Regions from separate parts of the Homo sapiens genome. Here region 1 is linked to region 2. Evidence: promoter capture Hi-C in 16 types of primary human blood cells and fetal thymus (Javierre and others, 2016). All regions are on one chromosome and are shown on one strand. Each heading gives the region's core, a stretch centred on a gene start or on the middle of the fragment in contact. The rest is flanking DNA. Distances are from core to core; before and after follow the strand shown. Region 1 overlaps KIF26B (kinesin family member 26B). Region 2 holds the start of SMYD3-AS1 (SMYD3 antisense RNA 1).

What was found. The method cuts DNA at HindIII sites, captures the fragments that hold promoters and counts their contacts. A CHiCAGO score of 5 or more calls a contact.
Region 1: a fragment that was not itself captured here is called in contact with the fragment with the promoter of SMYD3-AS1 in region 2 in 1 of 17 cell types (naive B cells); the score reaches 5.4 in naive B cells.

Annotation. Positions count from the first base shown.
Region 1 is chr1:245,213,750-245,219,116 of GRCh38, forward strand. All of the region lies in intron 2 of KIF26B (kinesin family member 26B), which reads left to right. KIF26B-AS1 (KIF26B antisense RNA 1) reads right to left here. Exons shown (of 5, transcript NR_151721.1): 3 at 2,389-2,554; 4 at 405-457. Among named protein-coding and RNA genes, the nearest start is that of KIF26B-AS1, 18 kb to the right of the region's middle. RefSeq lists an enhancer at 1-705. The HindIII fragment of the contact is 2,200 bases long and covers 1,324-3,523 here.
Region 2 is chr1:246,107,024-246,112,737 of GRCh38, forward strand. SMYD3-AS1 (SMYD3 antisense RNA 1) reads left to right here and starts at 1,603. Exons shown (of 4, transcript NR_183265.1): 1 at 1,603-1,694; 2 at 2,759-2,870; 3 at 4,308-4,506. The region is part of intron 5 of SMYD3 (SET and MYND domain containing 3); the gene reads right to left. RefSeq lists enhancers at 3,028-3,529, 3,530-4,029 and a silencer at 4,584-4,878. The HindIII fragment of the contact is 2,656 bases long and covers 1-2,436 here.

The DNA.
Region 1 (5,367 bases), core at 1,174-3,673, 890 kb before region 2:
TTACTCCTTATTTAGGTGATGAAAGATGTGGTGCCCCAACTTTAAGTTCCACTTGACGCAGAATTTCCTGATTGAGGATGGAGCCTGGGGCTACCTTGAGGTAATTACGGGATAGTCGTTGTACCTGGAACGTACATTTTTCTAAAGTTGCCACACAGTAAGACTCCCACAGTTCTGTCCACACCCCTTCCCATGACATTATTGTTTCTTCAAAAGGGACCAGCCGCTGAGATTTTGTTAGCAGGGAAATCTGTTTCACAGGAAGGAGGGATGTGTAGATGGGACCTAAACATCGAAGTTTATAATTTGGTGAAAACCTGATAAATGGGAAGACCATTTGAAATAGATGTTTCAGTGGCTGGGAGTCCCAGATACCCTTGAATTTAACACTGCTCATTACATACCTCAGTGACCAGAAATTGGAGACCAGCCTGGGCAACATCGCAAGACCCCATCTCTACAAAAAGTAAAAAAAAAAAGAGTCAGGCTTAGTGGTGTGTGCCTGTAATCCCAGCTCCCTGGGAGGTTGAGGTGGAAGGATTGCTTGAGCCCAGGAGTTCAAGGTGACAGTAAGCTGATTGGGCCACTGCACTCCAGCCTGGGCAACACTGTGAGATCCTGCCTCTAAAAACATTTTTTTAATATCATCATAAACTCTGTCAGAAATACAAAGGAGCATAAAGAATGTAACAAACAATCTGTATCCACAATCTGGCCTAATAAATAACACATTACCATCCCATTTGAAGGCTTTTTGCCAGACAGAGGGCAAGTCCTTGAGCGGGCGTCCAGTGCAGGTGTGCTGAAGAGCCCAGCCTCAAGCCTAAAATGGGATAGTACAGGACATGAACATGTGAGGCAAGTGGATCACCTGAGGTCAGGAGTTTGAGACCAGCCTGGGCAACATGGTGAAACCCCGTCTCTAGTAAAAATACAAAAAATTAGCTGGGCTTGGTGGTGCGCACCTGTAATCCCAACTAGTTGGGAGGCTGAGGCAGGAGAATCGCTTGAACCCAGGAGGTGGAGGTTGCAGTGAGCCGAGATTGTGCTGTTGCACTCCAGCCTGGGTTACAAGAGCAAAACTCCGTCTGAAAAATAAATAAGTAAATAAATAACGACATAGAAGACAGAATATGGTAGGCGGTAAAAGGGAAATGCTGAGCAGCAGAATGAGAGTAGTCAGAGTTAAGAAGAGGGAGGCATCTTGGGAGATCGGCTGAATGAGGGCAAACTTGATGAAGGAGGTGGCATGTCAGTTGGGCCACGGAGAACGGGTAGGATTATCTACTTTGTTCTGCATACATCTCCCTAACCCTTCCCTTAAGCTTCTCTTCCAAAGTTTCTCTGGGAAGTTTCTCTTTCCCTTCCCAGACTAAAGCTCTTTCCCTGCTGTTTGTCCTCTCTTGCTTGGCTCAGGCTATGATGGAAAACGTCCTCAGGCTGGGTTTCTGGGTGCCAGATGGCAGCCACCATGGGAGGAAGGGTGGCCGAGTACTCTCAGGGCCCGGCTCCTTGGTGACCAGCCAGGTGCCCTCCAGCCAGCGGCCCCAGCATGACACGGTCCAGGTAACCTCCCTTCACCGTGCTATTGGGAGGGTGTTTTCCAGGACTGGTGTGAAGTAGATTCAGTTCCCGAGAAGGACAGAGCTGCCTGATGCGTGAACAGGCCTCTCTGAGACCAGGGAGGCCACAGCTCTGAGACATGAAGCAGATGCTGCTCCTCAGGGCCTGTGGAGAGAGAACTCTACCCTCTTCCATTTCTGAAAGCCAGTGGAGGCTTCTCCTCCTCTGGAGGATTCATTTCATTTGTTAGTTAACGCATCCATTCCTTCAACATAGATTCATTCCATGTCAGCTCTGCCCCAGGCCTTATGCTGGGCTCGGGGTGTGGAAAATGGAATCGAAGCTGGTCTCTGCTCCTGAGAGGCTTACAGCCCCTTTTAGGGTATGTGCTGGATCTGGAAAGCTGGGATAGAAGAAATTGGGTGACTGTGTATTGTCTTTGTGCTTTTGTGTTTTTTTAGAGGCTTCTATGATCAGAATATTTTTGGACTAATGATGTGAGTTCCTTAGATAATTTGAAAATGTGCCCCTATATTCTCTACTGTTTAGAGTGGTATAATGTTGGCATGACCTCATCTTCCTTTCAAGATTACATATTAAAAGAAAATTTGACTTTATATTAAACGAAGTCAAAGCTGGGTTCAGTGGTGAGCACCTGTTGTCCCAGCTGCTAGGGAGGCTCAGGCAGAAGGATCACTTGAGCCCAGGAGTTCGAGTCCAGCCTGGGCAACATAATGAGACCTTGTCTCTAAAAAAAAAATTAATTAATTAAAAAATAAATAAGTAATAGGAATCAGACCCCAGCATCATAGTTGTGCATATTACCTGTTATTTCTTTAAGAGATATCCCTTCTCCTTGAGTTCCATTTTTATGGGAATTACTTGCTTTAAAAAAAAAAAACACACACACACAAAAACTTCAAAGATACAGCATTGACATGACGATAAACTTCCATTTCTTTAAATAAGCTCCTTGCAACATCTGATGTATCTGTAACAAAAAGAAGGGCAGGAGAAGGAGCTTGCATTTATGTTTATGAACAGGGTAAACTCAGAGACTTGCAACCTTTACCCCGCCCTCCCCCACCCCACCCTCAAGAAGTCCCGAAGAACAAAAGGCAATTCAGATGGCAGAATATTACTTCTGTTGCTGTAGCACCAAACTATTAAAAATAAAACTGTCCCTCAAGGCAAAACATTTCATTTATTTTCCTTTGAATGAGTAACTTGTTTATTAAGATGAACTAAGTGGCTAAATCTAGATGGTACGCAGGCAAGAAAAATTGATGTATTGTAGCCTTTCGGAAAGTATGCTTTATGTTCCCTGGAATCATCTCTGGGTTTTAAATGAAGAAGAGCTCGTTTAGTCAGATGGGGAGCTGCTCTCCCTGGAAATAGGCATCACCCGGCTCTGCAATGTGGAATGTCATATTTGACCTTGGTTCTTTCGCAAATTGGTTCTTTCTGGGCTAAATCAGTGTGTTGAAAGAGTTAGCTAGGTTTAGTGATCTTCAAAGGAGGACCACGTTCCTGCCTCAACTGCGTCTGCAGTTTTTTGAAGTGTTTAATATAAAATCGTTTCACTTTTGCCTTATTTCATATTTGAGATCACTGTGCTACTGCATCTGTTAGAGAGGCAACACAGAGCACAGGGAGCCAACTGCAGTCCCTGGAGCTTCTGAGAGAGCTCCCTTTGTTGCTTCCTGACCCAGCCTCAGAGGCATCCCGCCCACAGGGAAGGATATTTGTCTCAGCAGGGAGGTTCCCCATTACTGTCTCCTCATCTGGGGACACAAATGTGATGTCCAATTCCCCTCTGATTGAGGTCTCATTTGCCCTAAACTAATGCAACTTGAAAGGAGAAAAGGGTGTCAATGGTTAAAACAACAACAATGACAAGAACAACAAAAACCTCCACCCAATTTAGCAGTGAAACAGGAAACGCCGTATTGAGGAGAGAAGCTTTTAGTTGGAAAAAAAATTTCTCTTTAGAATTTGGACAACAAATGACTCTCACTCTCTTTTCTGGTGGTGATTGTTTTATTTGTTAATTTTTTTTTTTTTTTTTTTGAGACGGAGTCTCGCTCTGTTTCCCACGCTGGAGTGCAATGGCACAATCTCGGCCCGCTGCAACCTCCGCTGCTGGGGTTCAAGCGATTCTCCTGCCTCAGCCTCCCTAGTAGCTGGCATTACAGGTGCCCATCACCACGCCCAGCTATTTTTTTTTGTATTTTTAATAGAGACGGGGATTTTTACCACATTGGCCAGGCTGGTCTCGAACTCCTGACCTCAGGTGATCTGCTCGCCTCAGCCTCCCAAAGTGCTAGGACTATAGGCATGAGCCACTGCGCCCGGTCGATTGTTTTATTTTAATATCACGACACACATATTATTCCTGATTTGTAATCTCACGATACCCGCCTTGCTCGCCAAGAGTCCTGAGTGCTGGCCTGGTAAAGATGATTATCTCCATCTTTCAGACGAGGAAACCAAAGTTCAGAGCACAGGTCCGCAGAACAGTCACAGCTGCCAGCAGTTGCACACCCACATGCGCCATCCCATTTGATCATCACCAACCTGCCGGTTAGGTTTTCTTGTCACCCGAATTTTACAAAAGTGGAACAGAAGCACCGAGAGAATAAATGAGCTGCCTGAGATTCATCAACTGCTGGTGGAACTGGGCTTAGTCCTGCATTCTTTCCAAAGCCCCCATGCGGTGACTCAGTATTTGGCCATTTTTCTTTATCCTTTTTGCCTGGTGACTCTGAAGAGAGCCCACCTACAGTCCAGCATGTCTGGATCCTGTGCAGCGGGCAGAGGCCAGAGGCCATGGTGGGGGCCCCAGAACTCAGGCTGGGAATCCCAGGGGCTACTCCAGCTTTCATGTCACCAGAGCAGTGACATTCGGGCCCTCGGGGGCAGACTGTGCCTGTGGCTTCTCAGTGGGGTGCCTTAGGGTCCCCTCAGCAGATGGATCCCATCTCCTGGTCTGGTTAGCATAAGATAAACAGGGATAGTAGCAGCAGTTGTCACTCTGAGGGAGGGAAGGGGAAGGGAGGGCTCAGGTGAAAAGCAGAAGGGAACTCTATGGCTGTCTTTCTTCTCCCTGTTTACCTGTCCACCCATCTGAGAGATAAAAGAAGAGCAGAGGAGGGTGAGTGAGGAAAAAGCAGGAGGGTATTGGGTGTGGGGCCGATGGTTTTCACTCAATCCGCCGGGAGATCTGAATATCAACTCTCTATGGAAGAACAAGAACCGAGGTGTCTCTTCTGCCCCATTTCTAGCCCAGGGTGACCCCAGGAGCTCTGCAGTGTGCCGCATGGAATCGCCTAAGATGGGACTGCCTTGGAACAAACAGTTTCAATGTCTATTTCACATGTGCGCTCTAGCTCAGAATTTTAATAAGCAAATATACATGGTACCTTGCCGTAGGGGGGCTTTATGTTTCTAAATCTATGAATTAATAAACAGGATGAGCCTTTTTAAAAAAGGGAGCTTGGGGCAGAATGAACCACTAAAAAGTTATTGGCTCTTAACTCCTGCTTTTTGTAGAAGCTTGACAGGCAGCTGACTCAGCCAGACCTGAAACCCTTTCCCCGGTTCTTGTTGGCATTTCTGACTTTGCCATTTCAGTTGGCACTGACCCTTCCAAGACTGTGTATGCCAGGAGGGAGCATCTGCCCCCATCTACTCTCTGGGAAGATGTCCTCTCCCAAGAGTCAAGAGTGTCTTGTTCTGACCGTGGGTTACTTCTCTGTGTCTGTCTGAGAGGGGAAAGCATTGTCATCACACAGGAGGTAGCAA
Region 2 (5,714 bases), core at 353-2,852:
GCACGGTGGCTCACGCCTGTAATCCCAGCACTTTGGGAGGCTGAGGCGGGCGGATCACAAGGTCAGGAGATCGAGACCACGGTGAAACCCCGTCTCTACTAAAAATACAAAAAATTAGCCAGGCGTGGTGGCAGGCGCCTGTAGTCCCAGCTACTCGGGAGGTTGAGGCAGGAGAATGGTGTGAACCTGGGAGGCGGAGCTTGCAGTGAGCCGAGATTGCGCCACTGCACTCCAGCCTGGGTGACAGAGCAAGATTCCATCGCAAAAAAAGAAAAAAAAAAAGAATTTTGAAATGGAAATGTATCTATTTTTCCTTTCTTTAGAAAACAAACAGAAAATGAAGCCAACATATCTCATCACAGATTGCTCTTTAAATATGCGACCTTATACCAAAAGCAGACAAGTTCACAAAGAGATTATTTTTATAATTTAATCACAGAAAAGACTAGACTATCAGGTAGTTGGTGGCTACAGAAGTGACTGCTCCCCACTGAAGCAAGGAATGGATAGAATAAGTCCTTGAAATAAATGCTCAGGTCTTCCCTTAGTAATTCTGGACAGTGGGGAAATTAGCTCATTCAAACAAAGTTTATTAAATAAATAAAATCCCAGCACTTGTCTCTTTAGACAAAAACCACATGGAAACAATACAAAAGATTGCTAATGCTTTGGCAAATGAATCACTCTTCCAAATGCCATTTACAAAAGCCCACCAGACCTCCAGCTGTGCTGATGCCATGGGAACCCCTAGGGCAATTATAAGTGGATTTAACTCAAGACCAGAAACACAGGAGTAATTTTTAAAGACCCAAAAACTTCCAAATAAATAAATCTGGAAAGGAATTACTGTTTACACCACAGAGCCACAGGTTCAAATAGCCAAACTTAAAGAAGAAAAAACACACATGTATATATCTACTTCATCATGTAATCTCTGAACAATAGGAACTTTACTGAGTTGTCACTAAGGAAAGAGCAAAATCTAAGATAGGTAGTTTCTGGAAAATGAAAGTCCAGAGAAACTTGGCCATAAAATGAAAATTATAACGGACTTACAGAGCTCGTCTTCTTTGGGTTAAGAAACAAAGGTCTTCTTGTGCAAAGGAAGAATTCGAAAGAGGAATTCTTAAGTAGATGGCTGATGCATCCACGTCTAAACATCCAAAATCTACCAAGCACCTATTACATAACTAAGCCCTGTGTCAGAGGCTGTGGAACAAGAACCACTAAAACTTATCTCTGACCTCAAGAAGTTTATAGTTCAGGGAAGTGACTGACAATCATAATACAGAGGCATAAGGGCTATCCAAATAGGGTCACAGGTTACGCTATGAATACAGGTATCACATCAGAAAATTACCGTACTTAAAATCTCAGCAAAGAGATCACACCCTCACACAATTAATGTTATCAACATCCATCCAGTCTCTCAAGCTCACCCTCTTCAACAATCTTTGCTTTACTGAGTTCCGGGTGGACTATTTAAATATCATACAAATTGATTCTGACATCACAATCACTGCCTGCTTCCTAAAACTTGCCCTCCACCGTCTATTATAAATGCTTTCCAATCAGTGCTCCCATTCTTCATTCTATTCACCACTTAGTTACTAGAATGTTTTTCTCAACTATGAATCTGACTTCACTCCCTTTCTTGAAAACCTCCTGTAGTTCCTGTTGTGTACGGGATAAAGGTCAGACAACTTAGTATAGCCCAGCTCAGTCCAGCTAGCAAAGCAAATACTAGCTTTATTCCCTGCAAGCAACGTAAGACAAAGACAACCACACTAAACTCAGTATTAGCAGACCACCATCCTCCCTGAGGCCTCCACTGCTTTGCACACACTCTTCTCTTTCTCAGAAGGTCCTTTCCCCTCCTCCTGTTGGTGCAGCCAATTCTTTCTCTTCCTTCTAATGCACCATCTTCTGTGTAGTCTTCTTTGACACTAGGTAGGGTTACATCTTTGCTCTGTGTTTCTATAACACTCTTCATATGCCATGGAACTGCATTCATTATATTGGTATAATTTTATTTGTCTTTTTTCTTCCTAGACTGTGAGCCCCTGGAGTTCAGGGACCATTTCTTAATCATATTCCAGAACCTATCACAATGAATGACACGAAGAATATATTTGATAAAAATCTGATGAATGAACCACTCTAAAATGCAACTCTAATAAAGAAAATTACTGCCTATTCAGTTGGAACTGTACCATGTTACAAACGTAAAATTATGTATAGTCTGATAAAGAAATACTATAATAGCCTTGGAAACAGCTCACATACAATTTTTTTTATAAATGGATTCATTACCATATAACTGGACCAGCTTACTGAAGAGTAGCCCTACAGCAGTCACTTCGCAGTTTGCAATTCATTTGAGGTTCAAAGCTAGCTCAAGGGAAAACAACGTTAGTATTAACAAACTTATTTTTAAGCTTAAGGTCAGAATTTAAGGGAAAATAAATAAATATAGTATGTTCTAAGAATCCAAAGGAATTTTTAAAAATTGCCCCCTGCAGCTGTAATTTCTGCATGGATGAGAAAACCTTAATTGCTTGCTGGCTTCCAAGAAAGCCATTAACCTGCATTTAAAAATTCAGCTTTCATCAAGAACAACCTCACATATCCAGCTCTCATGGAAAAAGGAATAGAAGCCTCTGACCTAGTTTTCAATTATTACCAAACTACTGATAATTGATCTCCTGGTCTCCAGGTTTGTTTGTTTTACTAAAATAAATTCCCTCTGGAGCTGCAGGTGCTTACCATGGGGCTGCGCAGGTGGAAAGCAGCCCAGTCTTACTATGAGGATGTCCGTTTGCCATCTGGGAACAAGGAGGAAGAAGCAGAGACCTGGGCAAGACCTCAGAGTAAGTGTCCTTTTTGGCGGCTCCCAGGGGTCCCCATCATGTGTTATAGGAAGGCAGAATTATTTGAGATAAGGATAGGAGCTGAAATAAGCAGTGCTAATACTGGTTAAAAGTTGGTGCTTCAGCTGCAGTCACAACAGATAATGTCTCTTCAGTTATATTTCCAAGCTATTTCTCATTTGGCAATGTACACTTACACCAAAACTGTGAAACTCTCGGAAGTGGCAGACCTTGGCAACAAGTGAATGGAAACTGTGAATTACAGTACATGCCACTGAGTAAGGGGTGCACATCTAGAAACCAGAAATCAGGTTCTGTCTTGGCTCAGCGTCTAACTAGATGTGTGGACTTAGACAAGTCATTTAACCATTGGGGATTCAGTCTCTTCATCTGTAAAGAGTTCATTTAGATGATCTCTTAAGTCCCTAAGATCCCCATTGTTAGGTCCAGGGTCAGGTTCCAGCCCATGCTGAGGCCGGAAGGGAGTGGGTAGATGAATGGCAGACAGCTGAAAGAACACTCAGGGGGCTACGGGTAGGTGAAATACAATTTTATTCAGCAGCTCTCTTACACTGTGTGTCTCGGCTGCTTGTTCCAGCCACTCCCAAGCACAGATCTCTGCTGGCTCTCTCTCCCTTTGGGGTCAACAGCTTAACTCTTTCCCTCTGAGCGCAAGCAAGCTGAGCTGTGTCCTGGCTCCCCGCTGCAAGACAGACAGATCTGGTGCTCTCTCTCTTTCTTTGGGTGCAAGCACGCCTGCACAGTGTCACCAGGGCAATTATACCTTTTAAAGACAACAGTGGCAAAGAGCCAAGTGATGGCCCTCCCATGTTATGGCTACATAGCTGTTTATATTACACATGGAGTTGCGCGCCTGCGCTACAGACTTGCTGAGTCACCCGGGATGTTTACCTCAGCCCATCCTGCCTGGCTGCAGTGCAGCCATGTTCCTTACACCTACCAATTTAAAAGTACTGTAATTCCATTTTAAGGGTTCTAAACCATGAACCATGTTCATGGTTTAGGATTTTAGATATTTCTCATTTAAACTTAGGAGCGAACTCTGCATTAGGACATTTCTCCTTTCATTGTCCATAAGATAACTCACCAAATCCTTGCGCAAAGAGAAACAAATATAAACTACATAAGAAATGACAGGTGAGCCTTACCAAGGACCCTGACCCATGCATAACATCTTAGTATAGCATATATATATATAGTATATGATAGAAACATGCCGTGGGCTTTCATACCCTCTACAATAGTTCATTATAAGTTTCATCCCCCAAAGAAGGCAACTTACATACTTAAGTTTTTCTAAATAGAATCCAGGTGCTTTCACCAGTGATGCTCTCCAAGGGATCCCATCATAGTAATCAGTCTAGCCAGTGCCAACTTCAGTTCTACTAAATTTAATGCCCTCTTATTTTGACTCAGGAATAAATTATCTCAATGGCTACTTACATGGTCCAGCATAGCAGAAAAAAAAGCCACACTGAGCAAGCAGTGGTCCTTTCCATGCTACACAAGCAAGAAATGCCTATAAAGACAGACTTGAGTGCAGTCTAAAGAATCTTTTGCTTTGCCTTAACACTCTACTTCTGGATATCCTTGCTCAAAAAGAAGTCTACTCAAGGTGTGTATCTTTCCTCTTTATAAGCCCTCTGGCCTCAGGAAGACTGGTTTCATTCATGTGGTCATGTTTTTGCACAGCTTAAGACTAAACTGTATGATCCTTCCTTCTGGGCTCCTACAAGGGCATGCCAAAGTCCCCTCAAATAACCAAAACGGTGCACATCCCCTTTGCGTCCCACAGCAGTCTGCTAGTTTATGTAATACCATAATGACAGCTATCTGGAGTGGAACAGTGACACTGCTTTTTCCCAGACTACTTCACCATGTGAGGTAAACGGTAGAGGCAGCAATAGGTCTGCTCAGTCTATGGCTAATACAAGACCTTGCTTATGATAGACTTCAAGAGCTTCTTATTAGCCAGCTGTTAATTCATACAAACTGCACAGAAATTCATTCTGGAGCAATATTATTTGTTTCACATTATACTTAACCTTGAAAAGGTTAGTTTTTCAATGGGGGATGATTATCCTGGATAGATGCATACCCCCTACAAACATGAAACTGGCAAGTTCACTAAAGATTTCTCAAGAGCCACCAAGCTAGCAAAAGTCGCAACCAAATAATATTATATACTCTGCCCTTCAGAGCAACCTTCTTCATGCTGAAGTCTTCAGTTCACAGAATGACTGACTTATTTTCAAAAGAGGAAGGCTGTATTGCATATTGTAACTCTCTCCAAATCTATACTTATGAGCTAATTCTTCAAAAGGTAAGATCAATTACCACACAGAAGGAGAAGCCATCCATTTTCTTGAAGCTGTCAAAATTTGAGCTGTCTCCCATAGGATTTCCACTGACAGTTAATGAAAAAAATCAGTATCTGTCAATTTTGGAAGAAATTTAAAAGTGGTAAGATATTCTTATAAATCGATGTTAAAATTTTGGTATAATTATTGTATATTTGGATTACTTTATTTGCTTTCCTCCAAATCATTTCTTTACTAAATTTCCCTAAGTTAGCTTAATAATGAGGTTTTCTTAAGGAGAAATCTGTTGGTTATACACATAAATTGCTAACAAAAAAGGGATCAGAGCTAAATGGATCCAATTTTTCCTCCTTCATATGCTACAATACAAGGCTACTGCAGAATTTACACCGTGAATAATGTGTATTTTGAAAACCCAAGCTTAGAATAGTAGTATTTTGTTTCACTATCAAAAGACAAAGCAAAAAAATAAAAAATAGGCTACACTAATGTACTTTTAAAA